Regions from separate parts of the Homo sapiens genome. Here all the other regions are linked to region 3. The links are contacts of gene promoters, found by promoter capture Hi-C in human tissues and cell types (Jung and others, 2019). All regions are on one chromosome and are shown on one strand. The core of a region is centred on a gene start or on the middle of the fragment in contact, and the rest is flanking DNA. Distances in the headings are between cores, read along the strand shown.

Evidence for each region. The method cuts DNA at HindIII sites, captures the fragments that hold promoters and counts their contacts. A contact is called where the count stands out against the background at its distance.
Region 1: a contact is called between a fragment that was not itself captured here and the fragment with the promoter of FSCN2 in region 3, in 1 of the 25 tissues and cell types used here (lymphoblastoid cells).
Region 2: a contact is called between a fragment that was not itself captured here and the fragment with the promoter of FSCN2 in region 3, in 2 of the 25 tissues and cell types used here (dorsolateral prefrontal cortex and lymphoblastoid cells).

Annotation. Positions count from the first base shown.
Region 1 is chr17:81,584,853-81,589,454 of GRCh38, forward strand. NPLOC4 (NPL4 homolog, ubiquitin recognition factor) reads right to left here. Exons shown (of 17, transcript NM_017921.4): 12 at 4,092-4,252. Among named protein-coding and RNA genes, the nearest start is that of FAAP100, 35 kb to the left of the region's middle. The HindIII fragment of the contact is 8,680 bases long and covers 1-4,602 here.
Region 2 is chr17:81,562,719-81,567,017 of GRCh38, forward strand. It overlaps NPLOC4 (NPL4 homolog, ubiquitin recognition factor), which reads right to left. Exons shown (of 17, transcript NM_017921.4): 16 at 2,787-2,889. Among named protein-coding and RNA genes, the nearest start is that of FAAP100, 13 kb to the left of the region's middle. The HindIII fragment of the contact is 4,654 bases long and covers 452-4,299 here.
Region 3 is chr17:81,526,862-81,531,425 of GRCh38, forward strand. It overlaps FSCN2 (fascin actin-bundling protein 2, retinal), which reads left to right and starts at 1,516. Exons shown (of 5, transcript NM_012418.4): 1 at 1,516-2,496. The coding sequence starts at 1,671. RefSeq lists enhancers at 1,438-1,964, 1,965-2,490. The HindIII fragment of the contact is 15,570 bases long and covers 1-4,163 here.

The DNA of each region.
Region 1 (4,602 bases), core at 473-2,972, 58 kb after region 3:
TTTCTAAGAGACATTAAAGAACATGGGAACGAGGCCCAGCACGGTGGCTCACGCCTATAATCCTAGCACTTTGGGAGGCCGAGGTGGGCAGATTGCCTGCTGAGCTCAGGAGTTCATGACCAGCCTGGGCAACATGGTGAAACCCTGTCTCTACTAAAATACAAAAAATCAGCCAGGCGTGGCAGCGTGCGCCTGTAGTCCTGGCTACTCGGGAGGCTGAGGCAGAAGAATTGCTTGAACCCGGGAGGCGGAGGTTGCAGTGATCTGAGATCGCACCACTACACTCCAGCCTGGGCGACAGAACGAGACTCTGTCGCCAAAAAAAAAAAAAAAAAAAAAAAAAGAGTATGGTATTAGTTCTGGTTTAGGAAAACTGGCCAATGGAATAGAACAGAGTCCAGTAACATCCATGATTCCTGGAGATGACCGACGACAGAGAAGCATCAAAGATTAAAAGGGAAACAAAAGTTTGCTTTTATTCCCAAAACTGTGCTCATATAGCTGATTATCCACATCGTTAAGAAATCAAGGCCGGGTGTGGTGGTTCACGCCTGTAATCCCAGCACTTAGGGAGGCCAAAGTGGGCAGATCACGAGGTCAGGAGTTTGAGACCATCCTGGCCAACATGGTGAAATCCAATCTCTACTAAAAATTTAAAAGTTAGCCAGGCGTGGTGGTGCACACCTGTAATCCCAGCTACTCGGGAGGCTGAGGCAGGAGAATCGCAGAACTCAGGTGGCAGAGGTTGCAGTGAGCCGAGATCAGGCCACTGCACTCCAGCCTGGGAGACAGAGGAAGACTCCATTTCTGGGGGGGGGGGGAAAGAAAGAAATCAGAGGCTGGGTGCAGTGGCTCACATCTGTAATCCCAGCATCTATAATCCCAGCACTGTGGGAGGCTGAGGCAGGCAGATTGCTTGAGCCTAGGAGTTCAAGACCAGCCTGGGCAACATGGTGAAATCCTGATTCTACTAAAAATACAAAAGAGTTAGGTGGGCATGGTAGTGTGCGCCTATAGTCCCAGCTACGCGGGAGGCTGAGGCAGGAGGATCACTTGAGCCCAGGAGGCAGAAGTTGCAACAAGCTGAGATCACGCCACTGCACTCCAGTCTGGGTGACAGAGCGAGATGCTGTTTCAAAAGAAAAATATAGGTCAGGCACAGTGTCTCATGCATGTAATCCCAGCACTCTGTGAGGCTGAGGTGGGTAGGTCACTTGAGATCAGGAGTTCGAGACCAGCCTGCCCAACGGGGTAGGAGGGAGGAAGGGGAGGCAGGGGCCTGAATCCAAACCAGATAAGAAGACCCCCAGCAAAGGGGACTGTGGCACTGAGATGGAAAGCCCCTTCCCTCCCCTCCTGCAGGAAGTGAGTGCTGGGAGATGAGGGTCTGGCAGAGACTCTGGAGACACAGGAATTTCAAACATGCAGCCATTCTCTCCCCTCAAGATGTTTGCAGCTGGGTGTGGTGTAATCCCAGCACTTTGGGTGGCCTCACGCCTATAATCCCAACACTTTGGGTAGCCAAGGTGGGCAAATCACTTGAGTCCAGGAGTTCAAGACCGGCCTGGCCAACATGGTAAAACACAGTCTCTACTAAAAACACAAAAAATTAGCCGGGCAGGTGGCACACATCTGTAGTCCCAACTACTCGGGAGGCTGAGGCACAAGAATCGCTTGAACTCAAGGGGCGGAGGCTGCAGTGGGCCGAGATCGCGCCACTGTACTCCAGCCTGGGTAACAGAGCAAAACTGTCTCAAAAAAAAAAAAAAAAGATGCTTGCAAAAGTTTTAAGGTACATGGGATACCTACATATTTAAGCTGTATGAGGCATGAGGAAAACAAGAAACTTCTGGACAGACTGTATCTCCCAGCCTTTCAGGGCCAATGAGACAAAGATTTAAGGAAGACTGTCACCTCACAAAGAGCTCTACCAGGCTCTCAGATGGCACCCCTAAGGGGTTACACTGTAGAAAAAGGGAAGGATCAACAATAGACGAAGTCTCATCAAAATGCAACTCGGCTCTGACCAGCTACTTGCCACCTGGATGGAGATGGACAGCTCACCACCACCACATTTCCCATGGAGGAAAGGAAAGCCCTCTCTGGAAGAAAACACCCTGCTGGAGTCTCTGGCTTGTGATACACAATGAGCAGCACACCACACACACTCAGCACGCCAGTAACAAGGACAGACAGACAGACGGTCCACGGAAAACACATTGCAGCTGCAGACCCACATATGCTAACCCATAATTAGAAAAAAAATCAATCAATTAAAACTGATGCAGAAATAAGCAGGTGATATGAGTTAGTATATAAGAACATTAAAAGTTAATATGGGTCGGGTGCAGTGGCTCACGCCTATAACCCCAACACTTTTGGAGGCTGAGGCGGGAGGACTGCTCGAGGCCAGGAGTTCAAGATCAACCTGGCCAACATAGTGACACCCTGTCTCTTTATTTTTTTATTTTTTATTTTTTTGAGACGGAGTCTTGCTCTGTCACCCAGGCTGGAGTGCAGTGGCACAATCTTGGCTCATTGCAAGCTCTGCCTCCCAGGTTTACACCATTCTCCTGCCTCAGCCTCCCGAGTAGCTGGAACTACAGGCGCCTGCCACCATGCCCGGCTAACTTTTTGTAGTTTTAGTAGAGACGGGGTTTCACCGTGTTAGCCAGGATGGTCTCGATCTCCTGACCTTGTGATCCGCCCGCCTCAGCCTCCGAAAGGGCTGGGATTACAGGCGTGAGCCACTGCGCCCAGCTGACACCCTGTCTCTTTAAAAAAAAAAAAAAAAAGGAAAAAAGAAACAAAGAAAAAAGTTGTTTTTTTTTTTTTTTTTGAGACAGAGTCTAGCTCTGTTCCCCAGGCTGGAGTGCAGTGGCACGATCTTAATGCAAGCTCCGCCTCCCAGGTTCACGCCATTCTCCTGCCTCAGCCTCCCGAGTAGCTGGGACTACAGGTGCCTGCTACCACGCCCGGCTTATTTTTTGTATTTTTTTTTTTTAGTAGAGACGGGGTTTCACCGTGTTAGCCAAGATGGTCTCAATCTCCTGACCTTGTGATCCGCCCATCTCGGCCTCCCAAAGTGCTGGGATTACAGGCATGAGCCGCCGCGCCCGGCCGAAAAAAGTTAATATAACTGTATCCCCTATGTTCAAAGAGTTAAGTAGAAACACAGGAAGCAATTAACAACTTAAACTTCTGGAATGAAAACTACAATGTCTGAGATGAACAATATGCTGGATGAGATTAACTGCAGATGAGACACTGTAGAAGTCCAGATCAACGAATGTGAAGACTAAAAGAAATTATCCAAAATGAAACACTGAAGAAGACTGAAATGAAATGAACAGAGTATCAGTAAACTGCGGGACAACTTCAGGCAGCCAAATACATGTGTAACTGGAGCCCCCAAAGGAGCGGGAAACACCAAAAAGAGAAAACATTGAGTAGCTGCAATTGGCAGGATTCTAAAAAAGGTCCCGAAACATCTCCCACGGTCTTCTCATCTCCACCCCTATCCTTGAGACAGGGTCTCGCTCTGTCACCCAGGCCTGTAGTGCAGTGGCACAATCATGGCTAACTGCAGCCTTGACCTCCCCAGACTCAGGTGATCCTCCTACCTCAGCCTCCTGAGTAGCTGGGACTACAGTTCATGCCACCACATCTACTTTTTGTAGAGACACAGTCTCGCTATGTTGCCCAGGCTGGTCTTGAAGTTCTGGACTCAAGCAATCCTCCTGCCTTGGCCTCCCAAAATGCTGGGATTACAGGCATGAGCCACCATGCCAAGGACCCATCTTCTCATCTTTAGAAACTGAGACTGTCTGTGTTGCAATGGTCGGATTTGGTGTTACTGATCTCAAAGCCAGTGCATGTAGCTCCACTTCTGGTGAGAAGCCCTACGCCATGGAAGCATGAGTAGCGAATATCCAGCCCCAGAAACGTGACAGAAGCCTTTAGTGACAAGCAGGGTTCAACCACAGCTGACAAACGGCTGCTATAGGCAGAATGCACCCAAATTAGAAAGGTCCAAGACAGGTTCACACCATTCTCCATGTACAGAGTTCTTTTTCTTACCATACTTTTACCTTATAAAACACATCAGGCACGTACTGCTCACTGCTAGACTCCTTGGCGTAGCCAAGCTCCGGGGCGTCCTTGCATGGCAGCAAACACTCATCACGGACCAGTGCCATACACTGATTGGACACCTGGTACCCTTCAAAGTGGACTTGGTTGTCAGGACCACCTGCAAGAGAGAGACCTTTAAAAAGAGTCTACCAAACGGCATTCAAAACCAGTCCATATCTGTTAACTCTTCACCTCTGATCAACAGAAAAAACAAACCCTCAAGAGTTTGTCGGGGGTAAGAGTTAAAAAATGTTCAGTAGTCGGCCGGGTGCGGTGGCTCATGCCTGTAATCCCAGCACTTTGGGAGGCTGAGACAGGCGGATCACGAGGTCAGGAGATCGAGACCATCCCGGATAACACGGTGAAACCCCGTCCCTACTAAAAATAAAAAAATTAGCTGGGTGCGGTGGCGGGCGCCTGTAGTCCCAGCTACTCAGGAGGCTGAGGCAGGAGAATGGCGTGAATGGC
Region 2 (4,299 bases), core at 1,529-4,028, 37 kb after region 3:
GCTTGGGCCCAAGAGTTCAAGACCAGCCTGGGCAACATAGTGAGACCTCATCTCTACAACAAATTTAAAAAATCAGCCAGGGATGGTGGCACATGCTTGTAGTCCCAGCTGCTCAGGAGGCTGAGGCGGGAGGATTGTTTGAGCCTGGGGAGGTCAAGGTGAGACTGACCTCAAATGCCACTGCACTTCAGCCTGGGTGACAGAGTGAGAACCTGTCTCAAAAAAAAAAGGAGGGGGGAAAAAAAAAAGGTCAGGTGCAGTGGCTCACAGCTGTAATCTCAGCACTTTGGGAACCAAGGCAGGAAGATCACTTGAGCCTAGGAGTTTGAGACCAGCCTGGGCAACATGGCAAGACCACATCTTTTTTTTTTTTTTGAGACAGAGTCTTGCTCTGTCGCCCAGGCTGGAGTACAGTGGCACGATCTCAGCTCACTACAACCTACGCTTCCTGGGTCAAGTGATTCTCCTGCCTCAGCCTCCTGAGTAGCTGGGATTACAGGCGCTCGCCACCATGCCCAGCTAATTTTTGTAGTTTTAACAGAAATGGGGTTTCACCATGTTGGCCAGGATGGTCTCAATCCCTTGACGTTGTGATCCACCTGCCTCAGCCTCCCAAAGTGCTGGGATTACAGGTGTGAGCCAGCCACCGGGCCCGGCCAACCCTATCTCTTAAAGAAAAAAAAAAAACACCAACCAAAAACATTAGTTGGGTGTAGTGGCTCATGTTTATACTCCTAGGTACTCCGAAAGCTGATGCAGGAGGATCGCTTGAGCTCAGGAATTGAAGGCTGTAGTGAGCTATGATCACTCCACTGCACTCCAGCCTAGGCAACAGAGTGAAACCCTGTCTCTAAAAGGGAAACAAAAAAGAAAAAAAAAAAAAAGACTGGTGTCATTGTTAGAACTGCATCAAAGGGCTGGGTGCAGTGGCTCCCAGGTATAATCTCAGGACTTTGTGAGGCTGAGGTGCAAGGAATGCTTGAGGCCAAAGTTTGAGACCAGTCTGGGCAACACAGTGAGACCTCATTGATACAAAAATATTAAAAAATTTTGCAGCCATAAAAAGGAATGAAATCATGTCCTTTGCAGCAACATGGATGCAGTTGAAGGCCATTATTCTAAGCAAACTAATGCAGGAACAGCAAACCAAATACTACATGTTTTCATTTATAAGTGGGAGCTAAACATGGGTACTCACGTACATAAAGATGGCAACGCCAGGTGTGGTGGTACACATCTGTAATCCCAGCTACTCGGGAGGCTGAGGGAGGGGAATTGCTTCAACCCAGGAGGCAGAGTTTGCAGTGAGCTAAGATTGCGCCACTGCACTCCAGCCTGGGAGACAGGGTGAGGCTCCAGCTCAAAACACACACACACACACACACACACACACACACACAAAGAGCAGGGCGGGCTGAAAAACTATTAGGTACTATGTGTAGTACCTGGGTGATGTGATCAATCATACCCCAACCTCAGCATCAGGCAATATACCCAGGTGACAAACCTGCACATGTACCCTGTGAATCTAAAATAAGTTAAAATTATTTTTAAAAAACAAACAAATAAAAAGCAACAACAAAGCCCCAAGAATTAGCTGGGTGTGGTGTTGCAAGCCTGTGGTCCCAGTTACTCAGCAGGCTGAAGCAGAAAGATCACTTGAGCCTGGAGTTTGAGGCTGCAGTGAGTTACGATTGTGCAACTGCACTCCAGCCTCGGCAATAGAGTGAGACCCTGTCTCTACAAAAATAAAAATAATAAACAAAGAATTGTGTGAAAAGAAAACCTCGGCTGGGCGTGGTGGCTCACACCTGTAATCCCAACACTCTGGGAGGCAGAGGCAAGCAGATCACAAGGTCAGGAGTTCGAGACCAGCCTGGCTAACATGGTGAAACCCTGGCTCTACTAAGAATACAAAAATTATCCAGGCATGGTGGCACATGCCTGTAGTCCCAGCTACTCAGGAGGCTGAGGCAGGAGAATCGTTTGAACCCAGGAGGTGGAGGTTGCAGTGAGGCAAGATCACGCCACCACACTCCAGCCTGGGTGACAAGAGCCAAACTCCGTCTCAAAAAAAAAAAAAAAAACAGGAAATGGTATAAAGGTGTTTGATGTGTCTTTTGAAGGCTGTGTTAACAGAAGGATTCTAGCATTTGTCCAGGGCCGTAGCTCCCGGGCACTCTGGTGCTCTCAGCTGCAGGGACTCAGGGCACTCGGGCTGCACGAGGCACCACGGTGCGTGAGGAGTCCCTGCAGCAATGCTGACAGAAGGTTCTCACGAGTGGGGAATCGTTCAGGACCTGGTGACTGAGGGTCCGGAAGACACGCAATGCCTGCGGTCCGTTCCGTAGTGTCCACCAGCAACAACATGGATGCTGCAGGCTTCTCCTCCTTACAGCTTTAAGCACTAAAGGGAAATTCTCAAGGAGACCAAAAGGTCCCACGCTTCCGGCGCTTCCATAAAGTTTCTGATTCTCTTAAGACAATGATGTTCAAAGTGCTCCTAGGATGCCTGGAGATTAGTATCTCTGATGTACAGGTTTATAAAATTTACAGGGCTGTGTACCTAAGACGTACGGCCTGGACAACATGTCTGCTCCATCACCGGAGCCTGCCACGTGCCTGGCAGGGAGGCCGAGTCTCTACTCGTTGCATTGCCGATGGCACCTGCCAGGATGCAGCTGGGTGCGGAATCCAGGGCACCACCGGCAGTGGGGAGCTGTGCAGAGTGGGCTGCTCTCCGGCCCCAGCCACGGGGTGCCGGGGCAGGGGGTGGGGGTACTCACTGCACAGCTGCTCGATGGTGGCCCACTGCTCAGACCTCTTCCATGTCTGGGCGAGCTCCTCATTTCTGGTCCGCACGGCCTCCAGCAGCAAGCTGATGCTGTCCTACAAGAAGCCAAAAGGAAGGTTCCTCTTCGCTGTGCCTAAGGTGAGCAGCTTCCTGCTAGAACAGGTTTCTTTCTCCCCAACATCAAGACGTATTTCTGAGGACATTTTAAAAATCTTACAGGCTATCACTATAAAATGCAAACTGCCACAACTTACATCTATAAACGCAAGTGCTAAATTGAACTAGAATTTAAATTCTTCCCAAATAGGCCCAAGCGGGCATCTGTGCCTCTGCCTTGTGCTGACGGTGCTCAACAGCCCGGAGGATAGGAGCTCATGCCTCTCGTCCTGGAGGCTGGGATGGAGGGCGGAAGTCTTGACTGTGAGACGTGTCCTCCTCCCTCACATTTCATCCCTCTGCCTCTTTCTCCTCTCGTGTCTGGAAAAATGCACTCTCTATCCTAGCCTTCCGAGTCAAACTGCAGGGGATTAATGCATTAAGGATGGGCGCAGTGGCTCACGCCTGTAATCCCAACACTTTCAGAGGCAGAGGCAGACAGATCACGAGGTCAGGAGTTTGAGACCAGCCTGGCAAACGTGGCGAAACCCCGTCTCTACTAAAAATACAACAATTAGACAGGCGTGGTTGCGGGCACCTGTAATCCCAGCTACTCGGGAGGCTGAGGCGGGAGAATCGCTTGAACCCAGAAGGCGGAGGTTGCAGTAAGCCAAGATTGCGCCAATGCACTCCGGTCTGGGCAACAGAGCGAGACTCCGTCTTAAAAAAAAATAATTCATATATGAGAAACGGATAAAGCCTTCAGGAGCTCTCAGTACCTCCAGAGAATGTCTTCCAACAGATGACTGCAAAAATAGTGCAGTATACTAGCAAGGTGGCTCTGGTGTAGAGGGAGCCTCACCTTTCACCACCTGTCCAGACAGATGGGCAGCAGCTGAACCTCGGAGCAGGAGGTGCAGTTCCCTGGGCTGACTAGGGAAGGCACAGGCAGGGAAGAGGCACAGGGTGCCTGATGTCAAATACCCGAGTGAGTGGTTTTGAGACAAAATACAGACACAAAATAAACTAGCAGGATACAAGAACAGCTATAGGCTTCCTGACAGAGAAAGGCCGGGGGAGGAGGAGCCTCTCTATTCTGTCTCCTTCAGGGAAAAGTTCTGAGTCAGTGGCGGAGCAGCTCAGAAAGAATTTGCTCCTTTCTCTTTGGCATTTCCTGTTGGCTTGAACAGTGAAGAAAAAGCCAAAGTCGGACCCCTACACACGGCAAGAACCTCCTGGGGGCTGCTGCCCACTGGCCCCCACTACCCAGAGCAGCCACTTCTGCAAAGCACTCGCCCTCTTCTCCCCCAACGGTGTCTCTTAAAAATGCCAACTGTGCAGCTGTGAGCTTGGGGTCTGGAAGCTGGCCAAGCCTTCTGGGCCAAGGCAATAAAACCAGAGTTGATTTA
Region 3 (4,564 bases), core at 266-2,765:
CCTCATAAATGCGTGTGAATCATAGAGGCGGATGAGGCCAGCACACAGGGAGAGGCGAGAGCAGGCCCTGGCGTCGTGGCGTACGCTGTGCCCTGGGGGGTATTTGCATGTGGGAGTCTCTCTGCCCCCACCCTGGCCCCTGAGCGTGGGGACAGTGGGGACAGGTCTCCTCTTTTTCCTCCCCTGTGTCTGCAGGTGCCTGGCACGGTTGCTGTCCAGGGCTTAGAGGACAGAGGAAGAGCCCCTGAGTCTGTGCACACTCTGCCACCATGGCCCTGCCCACCTCTGGAGCCCACAGGTGCCCAGCCCAGGCCCCTTGCTTTTGGCTAGACTCCTGCCCTACGGGGACCCCCATGATGGCCACTCAGGAGATGGGCCCAGGAGGACAGGGGAGTGACTCCAGGCCATGACCGGAAGGGGCCTGTGGCCCCTGTTCCCAGTCCCCAGGGAGACGGGAGGGTCACACGCTGTTATGAGGAAGAGGACACCGGGCTGGCCCTGGCCCAGGGTGGCCAGCTCTGGTTTCACTACTTGGCCCCAAGCCCCTGAGGCAGGTGCAGGAGCCAGGCACGGTGAGCAGGGCCCAGTGCCCCTCAGGCTCTGGGGAAGGGGTACAGCCAGGTGGCCCAGAGCAAGGAGGTGCTGTAGACAGGTGTGACCACTTCCAGTCTCTCCCGGCCTGCTGGCCTTCATCCTCTCCCAGATTCCAAGGGCCACCGCTGGGAGCATGGGGTGGACATCGTCCCACCAGCCTCCTGGATCCACATCCGTAAAGACTCCAAAGTGAAGTGAGGCTGGCTTCACTCCAGCTCACAGCAGAGGAGGGGGCAGCCTCAGGGCCCAGCAACTTGCTCAGAGCGCACAGGAGTGCGCTGGGGCCGGGCCAGCCTGGCCCAGGGCCTCTGACTCTGCCCCCTGCCTGCAGGGCTGCACGGCCACTGTGTTCCACCCTCCAGCGTGGGTGGCAGTCCAGTGCGTCATTCTGGGGCCTGAGCAGTGTGGCCAGAGGCCGGTCTGGGGTGGAGGCGACCTGGGCTGCAGGTTGTGGCTGGGGTCCTTGCTATGCTTCTGGCAGCAGGAATCAGAGAAGCAGTAACTGGATCCAGCTGAGGGCCTGGCGGCCACCGAGGGTACGGGCGGCGATCAGGTTGCGGCCGAGCCGTGAGCGTTCCACTGGACGGCTTCTACATCCGGAAGGGCTGGGCCGGGCCGGGCCGGGAGCCCACACGGGGTTGGAGGAGGGGGGCAGGAACGAGAGAGGCCAAAAGGTGCAGGGCCGTGAAGAGGGGCGCTGGGCCCACGCTATGAGGAAAAGGGGATCAACCCTGCCCTCCAGCCCCGTAGGCCCTCAGGCCCTCGGGCTCTGGGCTCTGTGCAATCCGGGAGTGGCTGAAATCCAAGCTGAGGGTAATGAAAGGTGCTGCTCCTAAGCCGCACGTCTCTGATCCGCCCTCCCCGCCCGCCCTCTGCTGCCCGCGGGCCCTCTAAGAGCTGCCCAGGCTGCTGCCGCGGGTCAGAGGCGGGTCAGAGCAGGCAGGGGGTTCGTGACGCCGGCTGGGTCTGGGGGCTGTGGGCCAGCCGAGCCGACCCGGGCTTCTGGGGGACCGCGGGGGCCGTGAGCACTCAGAGGGCGCATCCCAGGCCCCTCCGGGGACCCGGCCAGCCTGAAGATGCCGACGAACGGCCTGCACCAGGTGCTGAAGATCCAGTTTGGCCTCGTCAACGACACTGACCGCTACCTGACAGCTGAGAGCTTCGGCTTCAAGGTCAATGCCTCGGCACCCAGCCTCAAGAGGAAGCAGACCTGGGTGCTGGAACCCGACCCAGGACAAGGCACGGCTGTGCTGCTCCGCAGCAGCCACCTGGGCCGCTACCTGTCGGCAGAAGAGGACGGGCGCGTGGCCTGTGAGGCAGAGCAGCCGGGCCGTGACTGCCGCTTCCTGGTCCTGCCGCAGCCAGATGGGCGCTGGGTGCTGCGGTCCGAGCCGCACGGCCGCTTCTTCGGAGGCACCGAGGACCAGCTGTCCTGCTTCGCCACAGCCGTTTCCCCGGCCGAGCTGTGGACCGTGCACCTGGCCATCCACCCGCAGGCCCACCTGCTGAGCGTGAGCCGGCGGCGCTACGTGCACCTGTGCCCGCGGGAGGACGAGATGGCCGCAGACGGAGACAAGCCCTGGGGCGTGGACGCCCTCCTCACCCTCATCTTCCGGAGCCGACGGTACTGCCTCAAGTCCTGTGACAGCCGCTACCTGCGCAGCGACGGCCGTCTGGTCTGGGAGCCTGAGCCCCGTGCCTGCTACACGCTGGAGTTCAAGGCGGGCAAGCTGGCCTTCAAGGACTGCGACGGCCACTACCTGGCACCCGTGGGGCCCGCAGGCACCCTCAAGGCCGGCCGAAACACGCGACCTGGCAAGGATGAGCTCTTTGATCTGGAGGAGAGTCACCCACAGGTGGTGCTGGTGGCTGCCAACCACCGCTACGTCTCTGTGCGGCAAGGTAGGGAGGGCACAGGTGGCGACCTCCTGAGGGGTGCTGGGACCCCCCTGCTTCAGGGAGGAGGCCGTGGGGGTCTCACGGGGAGTGGTATCGTGTCTGTGCGTTCACATGTCTGTTCTGGGCTGGGGGTCCATGTGGGACATGTGTGGCCACTCAGGGTGTAGGTGGGTGGGCCTCGGGCCATGCCCAGGCGACCCCCACTGAGGGGTGGTGGCTTCAGGGTCAGAGGCAAGGGTTCCTGGCCTTTCTCAGCATAGCTGGAGAATGTCTCAGCCAAGCCCTGGGCAGCTGCGGAGTCTGAGACTGGAGAGGTGTGGGCCAGGCGATGGGCAGTGCCCAGCAGGGGCAGGAGGCCCACAGCCTGGCCTGGTGCCATGAGGGGCATGTGGGCAGGAGGCTGTGGGGGGTCCATATCTCCCCTTCTTTTTCTCCACCCCATTTTCTGGACTTCATTTATTTATTTATTTTTTGAGACAGAGTCTCGCTCTGTCACCCAGGCTGGAGCGCAGTGGCGTGATCTCGGCTCACTGCAAGCGCCGCCTCACGGGTTCACGCCATTCTCCTGCCTCAGCCTCCCGAGTAGCTGGGACTACAGGCGCCCGCCACCACGCCCGGCTAATTTTTTGTATTTTTTAGAAGAGACGGGGTTTCACTGTGTTAGCCAGGATGGTCTTGATCTCCTGACCTTGTGATCTGTCCACCTCGGCCTCCCAAAGTGCTGGGATTACAGGCGTGAGCCACCGTGCCCGGCTGCATTTTCTGGACTTTAAAGGAAATTGGGGAGGAGCCCAGGGTAGGGCAGGGAGCTGGGGATCGGGCGGGGATAGCACCACCACGTGCCTGACCAGTGGAGCCTCGTGTCCTCAGGAGTGGGGGGGCTTAAGGTCAGCTCCAGTGATGGAGGACACGGTGGGCAGGCAGCTTTACCCGGGGCCTGGGCTCCTGGTGGGGAGGCACCTCCCTGCCCCAGTGGGGCGTGGCCTGGCTCTCCCCAGTTCCCAGGTCACCAGTTGCCTGTCTGTGTGACTCCCTCCACCGCCTATGGGGTGAACCCCAGCAGTTCCTCCTTCCCCACAAGCTGAGCTCTGAGGGAAAAGCCCTGGCCCGGGCAGTCACTACCCACCTGGGCTCCTGGCTCCATGCACCCCAGAGTGGCTCGGAGGTGGTCTGAAAAGGCGAGGTGGGGAGAGCCGGGTGCATGGAGCTCCTCCTCCCAACTCAGGTCCTTCCAGACCAGCATCAGCTGGGCAAGGAGAGCTCCCCTGTCTCCTGGCAGCTCCCAGGTGCCCACCAAGCCCCCACCCTGACGGATGTCCAGGCCCCCTGGGTACACTGACACTCTGGGGCCAGATGGCAGAGGCCCCACCCTGTGCATGGAGAGGGGAGCCCAGCCATGGCTATGGGGTCCTGCACCTGCAGTTGGCATCCTCGGGCCTGTCCCAGCAGTGACAGGGTCCCAGGAGTGAGAATTCAACTGTGGATGCACGGCCATGGCCCTTCCTTCCTATCACAGCCCACAGTCCAGCTGTAATGCCTGCTGGCCTGGGCCCAGGCCGGGCATGTGGCAATCCTTAGGTGGTTAAAGGGGGTAAGTGGGACAGTGGCAGTGAGAATGCTTCCTCCATGGAAGCCAAAGACACTAGACCTTTAGGCATTTGTATATGGACAGCTTGGAAAGCAGACTCAAAGTGGCAGTCATGGCCGTGGCCGTGGCATTGTGGTGTGATGTGCATGGTGGCGTGGAAGTGGAGGTGAGGACGGTGGTGACAGTGTGGTGGCAGCAGCGACAATGATGGTGATGGTGATGATGGTGGTGATGGTGATGATGGTGGTGATGGTGGTGATGGTGGTGATGGTGGTGATGGTGATAATGGTGATGGTGGTGATGATGGTGATGGTGATGATGGTGGTGATGGCGGTGGTGATGGTGATGGTGGTGATGGTGATGGTGGTGGTGGTGATGATGGTGGTGGTGGTGATGGTGGTGGTGATGATGGTGATGGTGATGATGGTGGTGGTGATGGTGGTGATGGTGATGATGGTGATGGTGATGGTGGTGGTGATAGTG